Linked DNA regions of Homo sapiens: region 1 is linked to region 2. Evidence: promoter capture Hi-C in 16 types of primary human blood cells and fetal thymus (Javierre and others, 2016). All regions are on one chromosome and are shown on one strand. The core of a region is centred on a gene start or on the middle of the fragment in contact, and the rest is flanking DNA. Distances in the headings are between cores, read along the strand shown. Region 1 holds the start of KCTD12 (potassium channel tetramerization domain containing 12). Region 2 holds the start of DIS3 (DIS3 exosome endoribonuclease and 3''-5'' exoribonuclease).

Region 1 (5,121 bases), core at 2,622-5,121, 4.1 Mb before region 2:
AGGTGTGGATATTCATGTCCAGGGCAAGACGAAGCAGGACAGTGGGAGATTTCATCACACTACTCTGAATGGTGTGCAATTTTGAATTTATGAATTAGTTATATTTCTGGAATTTCCATGTAATATTTTCAAACCACAGCTGACCATGGGTAACTGAAACCATGGTAATGGAAACTTTGGATAAGAAGGATTACTGTGGGGAGTGGGAGGGGAAGCTGGTTTGAAGAGAAGGCAGTAGGTGGGGGAGAAGATGCAAATGAGATGAGAATGTAGGTCCAGAGATGTTTCCAGTATCCTCCACTTTAGGATCAAAGGACAGGTTACTTGCAGGCACACTGTATCTTATTCAGGAAAATACAAAGAGTTACTTGAAAAGGAGCAATGACCATCAATTAGCAATGACCATCATTAGAAACTGGTTTGAGACTAAACACAGGGCTAGTGGGTTTCCAAATCCTCCCCAATCCCTTGCAATCAAGCATATTTAACATACTGGAGATGCTAAAGAGTTATGACTCTCTTCTTATAAACACTCAGGCCCTCAAGTCCCAGCATCAGAGTTCCCCAGTAGTATTTCCTTTTGAATTCTGTGATACCAACCAATAGGCAAGAAACAGAACACACAAAATTAACTAGAAAAACATTCCTTGTGTTTCAAATCACCTGTTTCATTCATTATTATATCTCTCATGCATTACCTGGCTTCCATAAGGAAATACCAATGGCTTTTCTGCAGTAGACTAGCTGGTGGTTGATGACTACCTTATGTCAAGATGTAGAGAATGATGATAGTAGGCTGCAGGTAGTGAATAAGCACACGGTATCACTCACATTTGACTCTGTACTGATCATCTCAAGGGTACTTTGGAGATTCACAGGATACAAGTAGATGACACAATACATAAACTTTCAATGTGAGCTCACTCATAACTCAGGCCCCTTTAACTTGTTTGACCCTGTGCCTGGAATGCTCTTCCTCCAAAACTTCCCATGGCTGTCTCTTTCTTATTATTCAGCTCAAATGTCACATTCACAGAGATGCCTTCCCCAGGCACTCTGTATAAAGTAGTATTCCACACTCAGTCCCTCTATCACATCTTATAATTTTATTTTCTTTGTGGCATTTATCACCACCTGAAATAGGCTTACTTATCTTTATACTATATTTATTTGTCTCCCTCGCAAGACTATAAGCTCCTAGTGGGCAGTGATTATTTTTTAACATGCAGCCTGGAATATAGTAGTAGGCCCTGAATAAATAGTGGTTGAATGCTTGCGTGAGCAACAGATATTTATCAAATGCCTGTAATATACCAGCTCTGTTCTAGGCAGTGGGGGTGTGGCAGTGAACCAAGCAGACAAAAACTGCTGAAGTCTTGGAGTTTATATTCTGATGTAGGAAAAGAGTCAACAAATAAGGCAAGGAAGAGGAAGCTGCAGTGAGGCTGTGCTGCATTAAGAAGTGGAATCAAGGAAAGGTCTTGCTGGGCAGACCTGAAGAAGGTGAGAAGGGAGGGACCTGAACAAGGTGAGGAACACGGGAGGGAGGAGAAATGAGACTTTTACAAGGATGTGCAAAGGCCCTGAGAAAACAAGAAAGGGGCTATGTGGCTAAAGCCAGCCAGCTCCTGGGGGCAGGGCAGGAGATGTGTCAGAGAGGTGCTGGTGGGATAACTCCAAACATGTAGAGTCTTGTAAGCCACTGAGAGGACTTTGGATTTTGCTCTTTCTGAGATAGGAAGCCACTGGCAGGCTCTGAGCAGAGTGACATACCAGCCTTGGATTATAAGCAGGGTCCCTGTTTTTGTTCTGGTGATACAAGACTGTAGGAGCAGAAGTAGAAGCAGTTAGGAGACCAGTGCAATAATCCAGGCAAGAGATGATGGTGGCTTGGTCCAGGGTGATGATAGGGAGATGGTGAAATACGTTAATAGTCTAGAAAGATTTTTAACACAGAGCTGGCAGGATTTGCTGATGCAATGAGCAATGGTAATTATACAAAAATATGTGCAGAACTGATACAAAGAAGGCTTTTCTTGGATTTGTAGAAAAGAGGCTGGTTTTGTCAGGTCTCTGACACTAATATAACGCCTAGTAGCACAACCACCTCGAAATCCTGCACTGGGACTTGGAAGTTTTGTGTTATCTATTATTTATCCCAAAGAACAGAACAACAACAAAAAAAGAATGTTGAAATACATTCAGTATCAAAATCTGTACTTGCAATTAAGATAACTGGTTTGGGGGTTGATCTCATTTCAGCACACTGACATGAGCGCGGTAATTGTTGAGCAGATATAAACATTTCAAAATAAAAATGACATTTATCTGTGAGGAGACTGTGAAGCTCACTGGGTAGTTACACAGAAGGATAAATTTTATCAAGAACAAAGATCTTGCCTGATTTATCCTGATGTGTGGTCTATACTTCAAACTGATGTGATAACTGCGCAGACCCCTGACCCTTTGCTTATTGGGCTACACTGAAAGCGCTTTGGAGATTATTCGCCTTTGCATTCCTCACTCCCTGGTGCCCTGCAAATAATAGCAGGTACACAAGAAACATTCAGTGACCCAATCATTTCTTGACACCCTCCTCTGCACTCTTCTCTTTTTGCAGCATTCAGGAGCTCTTACTTATTTTCATACCCAAATCAGTGATCAGATAATCACTCATAAATATGACATTTCAGAACGTGCTGGGAGCAGCGCAGACAGTGTGTAGGGAGCCATCCAGAGGCCCCACCCACCTGGGAAGCCAGGGAAAGCTTCCAGGGGGAGGGGGCGGTTCTGTGGGCTGCAGTCCGAGGGGGAAAAGCAAACGTGTAGGCAGCAGGAGTTGAGAGATGGGATCCAGACAAGGGCCTTCAGATATATAAATATCCCTTTCTGAGACTGACGGGAACTTGGACAGGGCCGAAGAGTGACCGAGGCATGCGGGAGAGAAGGGGCGCCTGGACTTTTGGAAGGATAAACATGCAGGCGCCAAAGGTGGCTTTAAAAATTACGTTAGATCTGCAACTGTTGTGAGTCTAAGGGCGCGATTCAACGAAGGCTGAATGGGACCCGGAGACCGAACGTTCCGGAGTCTTACCCCTTCACTTCGAAGTGAAGTGCCTCGAAGGCCCTGCGGGAAGAGGGAATTGCAATTAAGAGCAGATTTGAAGCTTCATCTCATTTTGTCTCTGCAGCCAGAAAATAAACTATCGTAAAGCATCCTACTGCGGGACACTGAGGTTTGCTTTTTGTTTCTAGGTTTATTTATTTATTTTCCAGGCTGGCTGCAAGGCAACTTGAACAAAATCTGGCTGCGCTCGGACTGGGGCGGCTCTTTCGTCTCTCCAGGTTTTTCGCGTCTCTCTACTTTCAGTGACACGACAACCAACGATGGCAGGCCGCAGCTGCACTGCTGGAAGCGCCCAGTTCCGCAGGCGGGAGGGCCGGAGGCGGCCACGCATTTCCACTCCCGGGGCGACAGGCTTCCGAAAGTTCACGTCCTCCTTCCAGAGTCCTTGGGTGCGGGCTGGGGCGAGAGGGGAGGGGGCGCGGTGACTGTCCCTCCAAGGAGCTGTCTTCCGAAGCCGCCAAGTCTCGGGCGGGTCCTCTTCGGAAGAGGGAGAAAGTTGGGCGGGACCACGGGGCGGGGCTGGTGGGTGGGGAGCGGGTGGGAGTCCGGGCGCCCCCAGCGCTCGCGAGCCGGGGTGGAGCCAGCAGCCCCGCGTGGCGTCCGCGTTTAAGATGCAAATCGAGTCCCCGCTCCCCACCTCCCCTCGCCCGGTAAGCGAGGCTCCGCCGCCGCCCACGCCTCCTGCGCGCCACGGCACCAGAGCAGGCGGCTCTACTTAAGCAGCGCGCGGGCCGCGACCCGGCACTCGCCTGGAGCGCGCGGGCAAGGCGGGCGGAGCGCACTGGAACTCAAGGGGGCGCACAGCGGCGCGCTCGCACCGCTCGGCTCCGCGCGGCTCTAGGAGGTGGCGGCGGTGGCGGTGGCGGCGGTGGCGGCGGCGGCGGCGGCGGGGCGCAGGGCTGAGCGAGCGTCCGGGTTCCGGGGCTCCGGGGAAGGCGGTTGCAGCTCCTGAGTGCAGCGCGGCTTCCTGCCACTGTCCCGGCCCGGCCACCTCTCTGTCATGGCTCTGGCGGACAGCACACGTGGATTACCCAACGGGGGCGGCGGCGGGGGCGGCAGTGGCTCCTCGTCGTCCTCCGCGGAGCCACCGCTCTTCCCCGACATCGTGGAGCTGAACGTGGGGGGCCAGGTGTACGTGACCCGGCGCTGCACGGTGGTGTCGGTGCCCGACTCGCTGCTCTGGCGCATGTTCACGCAGCAGCAGCCGCAGGAGCTGGCCCGGGACAGCAAAGGCCGCTTCTTTCTGGACCGGGACGGCTTCCTCTTCCGCTACATCCTGGATTACCTGCGGGACTTGCAGCTCGTGCTGCCCGACTACTTCCCCGAGCGCAGCCGGCTGCAGCGCGAGGCCGAGTACTTCGAGCTGCCAGAGCTCGTGCGCCGCCTCGGGGCGCCCCAGCAGCCCGGCCCGGGGCCGCCGCCCTCGCGGCGCGGGGTGCACAAGGAGGGCTCGCTGGGTGACGAGCTGCTGCCGCTTGGCTACTCGGAGCCCGAACAGCAGGAGGGCGCCTCTGCCGGGGCGCCGTCGCCCACGCTGGAGCTGGCTAGCCGCAGTCCGTCCGGGGGCGCGGCGGGCCCGCTGCTCACGCCGTCCCAGTCGCTGGACGGCAGCCGGCGCTCGGGCTACATCACCATCGGCTACCGCGGCTCCTACACCATCGGGCGGGACGCGCAGGCGGACGCCAAGTTCCGGCGAGTGGCGCGCATCACCGTTTGCGGAAAGACGTCGCTGGCCAAGGAGGTGTTTGGGGACACCCTGAACGAAAGCCGGGACCCCGACCGTCCCCCGGAGCGCTACACCTCGCGCTATTACCTCAAGTTCAACTTCCTGGAGCAGGCCTTCGACAAGCTGTCCGAGTCGGGCTTCCACATGGTGGCGTGCAGCTCCACGGGCACCTGCGCCTTTGCCAGCAGCACCGACCAGAGCGAGGACAAGATCTGGACCAGCTACACCGAGTACGTCTTCTGCAGGGAGTGAGCTCCCCAGACCCCCT
Region 2 (4,878 bases), core at 90-2,589:
GTCAGCCTTCGAGAAACTTAAAAAAACAGTTCCTGCGGGGAGGAATCTTACTTGGAGGAAACAAAGAAATGTACAAGATGAAGAAAAAAGCCCATTATAATCAAGAATGGCACCACTAAAACCAACACATGCTCAAAGATAACAGAAATCACGTCTGAGTTGGTCAGGGAAACGTTACACAGAGGTAGCACTTAGAATCTTTAAAGATTTGGACAGGCATGGTAAAAAGGAGAAATCATGCAGTTATTAATGATACGTAAGTGGAAGTAAAAAAACAAAGCCAAGTCTTGGAATAGTTACTCCTTTCACCGCCCCCCCAACACAAACACAAACACACACACACACACACACACACACACACACGCCCTTAACGATCAAGACTGGAAGGCCTTAAATGTCAAAATAGGGTTGGATTTTATTCTACAGGCAATGAGGCATCATTGAAGATGTTTTAAATAGGGAAAACGGGGACAAAAACATTTTTTATAGATAGCAGAATGAAAACAACAGGATATAAGAAAAATTCAAGAAATTCTAAATAGAACTTACTTCTAACTCTCTCATAAGAATGTTAGCAACTACCTTGTTTTAATACCTCATGATATAACAAATTATGCTATTAAATATTTCAGTTTTTCTAAACTGAATGATAAGGAAAGGTGTGTGGAGGGGAAACAGCGAGAACTATACTAAGATCGGCCTCCCTCCTTCTTTTTGAAGGGAAATAGGTAAGAAAAAGTGAATTCAAAGACAAATTCTCTCCTCGATTACAAAGGGCCCGAGACGGGGACTGCCTATACACTCGGCGTGAAAATTAAGCCCCAAACTTGGCAGCTCGGGGGATTCCTTGCCCCACGCGGGAAAGAAAGCGATGATAGTCGCAAGTTACCTCGAAAGTGTCAATTACTCCACACTGAAGCCTTGACCAGCAGCCAGTGCAGACACCGAGGGACCAAAGGCGTCTCCGGTCGGAAGCACAAGGTTGCAGGCCCTCAACAAGGGATTTCAAGGCAGGGGACCGTTAGGACCCGTAACCAAGACAACCATCTCCGCACCCGCAAGGAGGACAGAACCAGCACTCCCACAAGCCGCCGGAAGTCAACTCTCCCGGATGTTCCGAGGAGCGGAAAGCAACACACGTTGTGAGGTGGCGTCCAGAAGGAAGCCCCGCCTAGGCCACGGGCGGAAATGGCTCCTCGCCTTGCTTTGCCGCCCCTCCCCACTCTCGCCCAATCCCCGCGGCCGTCAGAGAGCCAACCAATGTTTATCTCGGCATTTTCCCGCGAGAAGTGTTACTAATATCCGGGAATGGAAAGGGAAGAACCTCCGGGGTTAGGCGTATTCTAGATTGACGCCTTTTGCTGGAAGAGCGCTGCTGGGGTTAGGATTCTGCGCGGCGAGGCAAGATGCTCAAGTCCAAGACGTTCTTAAAAAAGACCCGGGCGGGCGGCGTGATGAAGATCGTGCGCGAGCACTACCTGCGAGACGACATCGGCTGCGGTGCGCCCGGGTGCGCAGCGTGTGGAGGGGCGCACGAGGGGCCGGCCCTGGAGCCGCAGCCCCAGGACCCGGCGAGCAGCGTCTGCCCGCAACCGCACTACTTGCTGCCCGACACTAATGTGTTACTGCACCAGGTGCGTGGGCGGGCGAACCGCGGACAGCGCGGCCCCACGGGGACAAGGGGGTATGACAGGGAAACTGAGGCCCAGGGAGGCGGGTCTTTGGCAGTGTCACATACCTAGCGAAAGGGAAACCCCCTCGGGACCGAAGCTTCCTGTTCCCCAGGCCGAGGTTCTTTTCCTTGTGCTTTAAAAAATTTAGTTCTTGGAGTCGTAGTTCAGACACGTTATTTTTCTAACTCCTGGTGTCTCTTCTGCCTTAGATTGTAAGTGCCTGGAGGCCGGGGACCTGGGCTTCTGTGGCCTCCAGCCTGCGACTCCCAGGCAGCTTGTAAGTGCCTAGGAACAAAAAACTATGTGGGCCAACGTATTCCTTTATTAATACCCTTAATTCTACGAAGTCTTGTGATTGGTCTGTTTAAGTGTGCTTTTTTTAATAGATCTGAAGGGTTTAGTGACTATTGTCTCGTTTTCTATAGCCAAATAGCTTCTTGGCTTAACTTATTCAGTGTTTTTAAAACATAAAGTATTTATGCCCAACATAAAACAGGATTTTATGTTTGACAGAGCTATTTACAAATGAATATAGGAAAAATTAACTTTATCTTTCTTTAAGATTGATGTTCTTGAGGACCCTGCCATCAGGAATGTAATTGTGCTACAAACAGTTCTTCAAGAAGTGAGAAATCGCAGTGCCCCCGTATATAAACGCATCCGAGATGTGACTAATAACCAAGAGAAGCATTTCTATACTTTCACTAATGAGCACCATAGGTAGGAGGAATATTACGTTAAATATCAGAAAACCACAGGATTAGCAAAATTCGGGAGAGGGTTCCTGTGAGTAATTTATGACATTGTCAGAAGATAAGTGATAGATTTCATACCTTATTTAATTCTTACATGGCTGTGCAGAAGATAATGCTAAGTGGATCTCTCTAAGGTCACACAGGCATTGATGGGCTCAAGCCTAAAACCAAGGTCTGCTGACTCCTAGACTACAATAGGTACTTTAATTTCCAAAATGTTTTCATTTTGAATTGGTTTTAGCATGAGTTGGACCATAGAATCTTGGAAGATGAGATTTGCTTAAGTTCCTGGAATACCATATTATGTGAACAACTAACAGAGGGTAATAAAATATATGAGTTTGTGAAGTTTCTATTTTGTTTAAAAATAGAAAGTAGATTTATTCTTAATGGTCTTTTTAAAAGTTTAATACTTTGCAGCTGATTACATTGAGCAAGATTAGGTTAAGGAATAGAATTCTTTTTTTTTTTTTTTTTTTTTTTTTGAGATGGAGTCTCACTCTGTCACCCAGGCTGGAGTGCAGTGGTGTGATCTCTGCTCACTGCAACCTCCACCTCCCAAGTTCAAGCGATTCTTCTGCCTCAGCCTCCTGAGTAGCTGGGATTACAGTCACGCACCACTATGCCAGGCTAATTTTTGTATTTTTAGTAGAGACAGGGTTTCACCATGTTGGTCAGGCTGGTCTCGAATTCCTGACCTCGTGATCCACCTGCCTCAGCCTCTCAAAGTGGTGGGATTACAGGCATGAGCTACCGTGCCTGGCCAGGAATATAATTCTTTGTTGTGCTTTTAGATTCAAGACCTTTGAACTCAGTGTGTGGTCTCAAAAATATGATATTGCCTATTACGTTATATTACATAAATAATCTATGATGAGTATGGTACTTTTATTGGATTAGATCAGGGCTTCTCAATCTTGGCATTATAGATATTTTGAACTGAATAATTTTTTTGTGGTGGAAAGGCTGTTTTATACATTGTAGTATGTTTAACAGTGTTCCTAGCCTATTTGGCAGGATCACCACCCCTTACCCCCCCCACCACCACCACCACCACCACCACTCAGTTGTAATGATACAAAATGCCCTGAGGGGTGAATTCACTCAATTGAGAACCATTGGATTAGAGTGTAGACTTCTGGTAATGAAATTCCATCAGATTATGCACATTTTTAAAAACCTTAATATCTCAACTTTCTTGATTCTTATATCTCAAACTTCAATGTTCTTGTAAAGAATACCAGTAAAGCCCTTGTAGGCTTCTTATTGTTAGTACCTCCTTGAAATCCAGAAATAGCAACATCACTTGTTTTTCAGTGCAGAAAGACCCAAGTTTAAAACCAATTCAAAAATTTATGACTGTGTCTTTCACTGATGAGCTTAAAACATTAGCAGCTGGGCGTGGTGGCTTATGTCTGTAATCCTGGCACTTTGGGAGGTTGAGGTGGGCAGATCACTTGAGGCCAGGAGTTCCAGACCAGCTTAGCCAACCTGGAAAATCCCTGTCTCTTAAAAATACAAAAATTAGCTGGTTATGGTGGTACATGCCTCTAGTCCCAGCTACTTGCGAGGCTGAGTTGGGAGGATCACTTGAACCCGGAGGTAGAGGTTGCAGTAAGCTGAGATCATGCCACTGCACTCCAGCCTGAGCTACAGAGCAAGACTCTGTTTCAAAAAAAAAAAAAAAGCATTAGCAAGTGCATTCAACGATGAGGAATAAAATAATTCTAAAACTATTAATATAAATCAAATTATTAAATTGAATCTATTACCATTAAGTACTGGAAGCTATTGTAGTGAACTTTGCTGTTGTACTTAAACCTGGCTTTGATGAACAGATTTAAAGAAATAGATGAATGTGTTGACATACTTGGGAGTTTAGATAGAAGAAATACGTAATATCTATTAATATACCTGACTTTTCAGTCTCTACATAGCTTCAGCTATTAGTGTTTACCATGGATAATTTATATGCATTATTTATTAATGACTGTAGAATTCTGATTATAAATGATCTAATTATACTATTTGTAGCTTTTAGGAATTGCTATTAACCTACAGTTTGAATGAAATCTGATTATCATACCTGTGAAATTGTATTATAATTTGTCAACAAACTATTATTTAGTGTCTCAACCTAAAGTATAAATTCTGATCTTGAATTTTTCTTTTTAGGAAATAAAATTGTATTAGCCTTTTTCTTGTCCCCTTAATAACATAATTTTCTTCTTTTCCAAGCAAATTGTTTCTTAAAAACTTAATTATAAGAATCTTGATTTCTTCTCTGAGGTGTACATCTGAATACATTCAAGAGAAAAGATATACCATTGACTTTTTCTAGTTTAGTGGTTAAGCATTTATGTGCTAAGAGTTTTCACATATCCTTGTTTCTACTGATTTCCTTTTATTTCGTTTTTTCTTTCCATTTAGAGAAACCTATGTAGAACAAG

What was found. The method cuts DNA at HindIII sites, captures the fragments that hold promoters and counts their contacts. A CHiCAGO score of 5 or more calls a contact.
Region 1: the fragment with the promoter of KCTD12 here is called in contact with the fragment with the promoter of DIS3 in region 2 in 2 of 17 cell types (fetal thymus and total B cells); the score reaches 5.9 in fetal thymus.

What each region holds. Positions count from the first base shown.
Region 1 is chr13:76,885,155-76,890,275 of GRCh38, reverse strand. It overlaps KCTD12 (potassium channel tetramerization domain containing 12), which reads left to right and starts at 3,871. Exons shown (of 1, transcript NM_138444.4): 1 at 3,871-5,121. The coding sequence starts at 4,128. The coding sequence ends at 5,105. RefSeq lists silencers at 3,644-4,073, 4,474-4,743 and an enhancer at 4,357-4,856. The HindIII fragment of the contact is 7,244 bases long and covers 3,170-5,121 here.
Region 2 is chr13:72,778,361-72,783,238 of GRCh38, reverse strand. It overlaps DIS3 (DIS3 exosome endoribonuclease and 3''-5'' exoribonuclease), which reads left to right and starts at 1,339. Exons shown (of 21, transcript NM_014953.5): 1 at 1,339-1,634; 2 at 2,236-2,393; 3 at 4,859-4,878. The coding sequence starts at 1,407. PIBF1 (progesterone immunomodulatory binding factor 1) reads right to left here and starts at 1,106. Exons shown (of 18, transcript NM_006346.4): 1 at 890-1,106. RefSeq lists enhancers at 1,206-1,315, 1,233-2,147 and a silencer at 1,596-1,645. The HindIII fragment of the contact is 4,441 bases long and covers 1-1,772 here.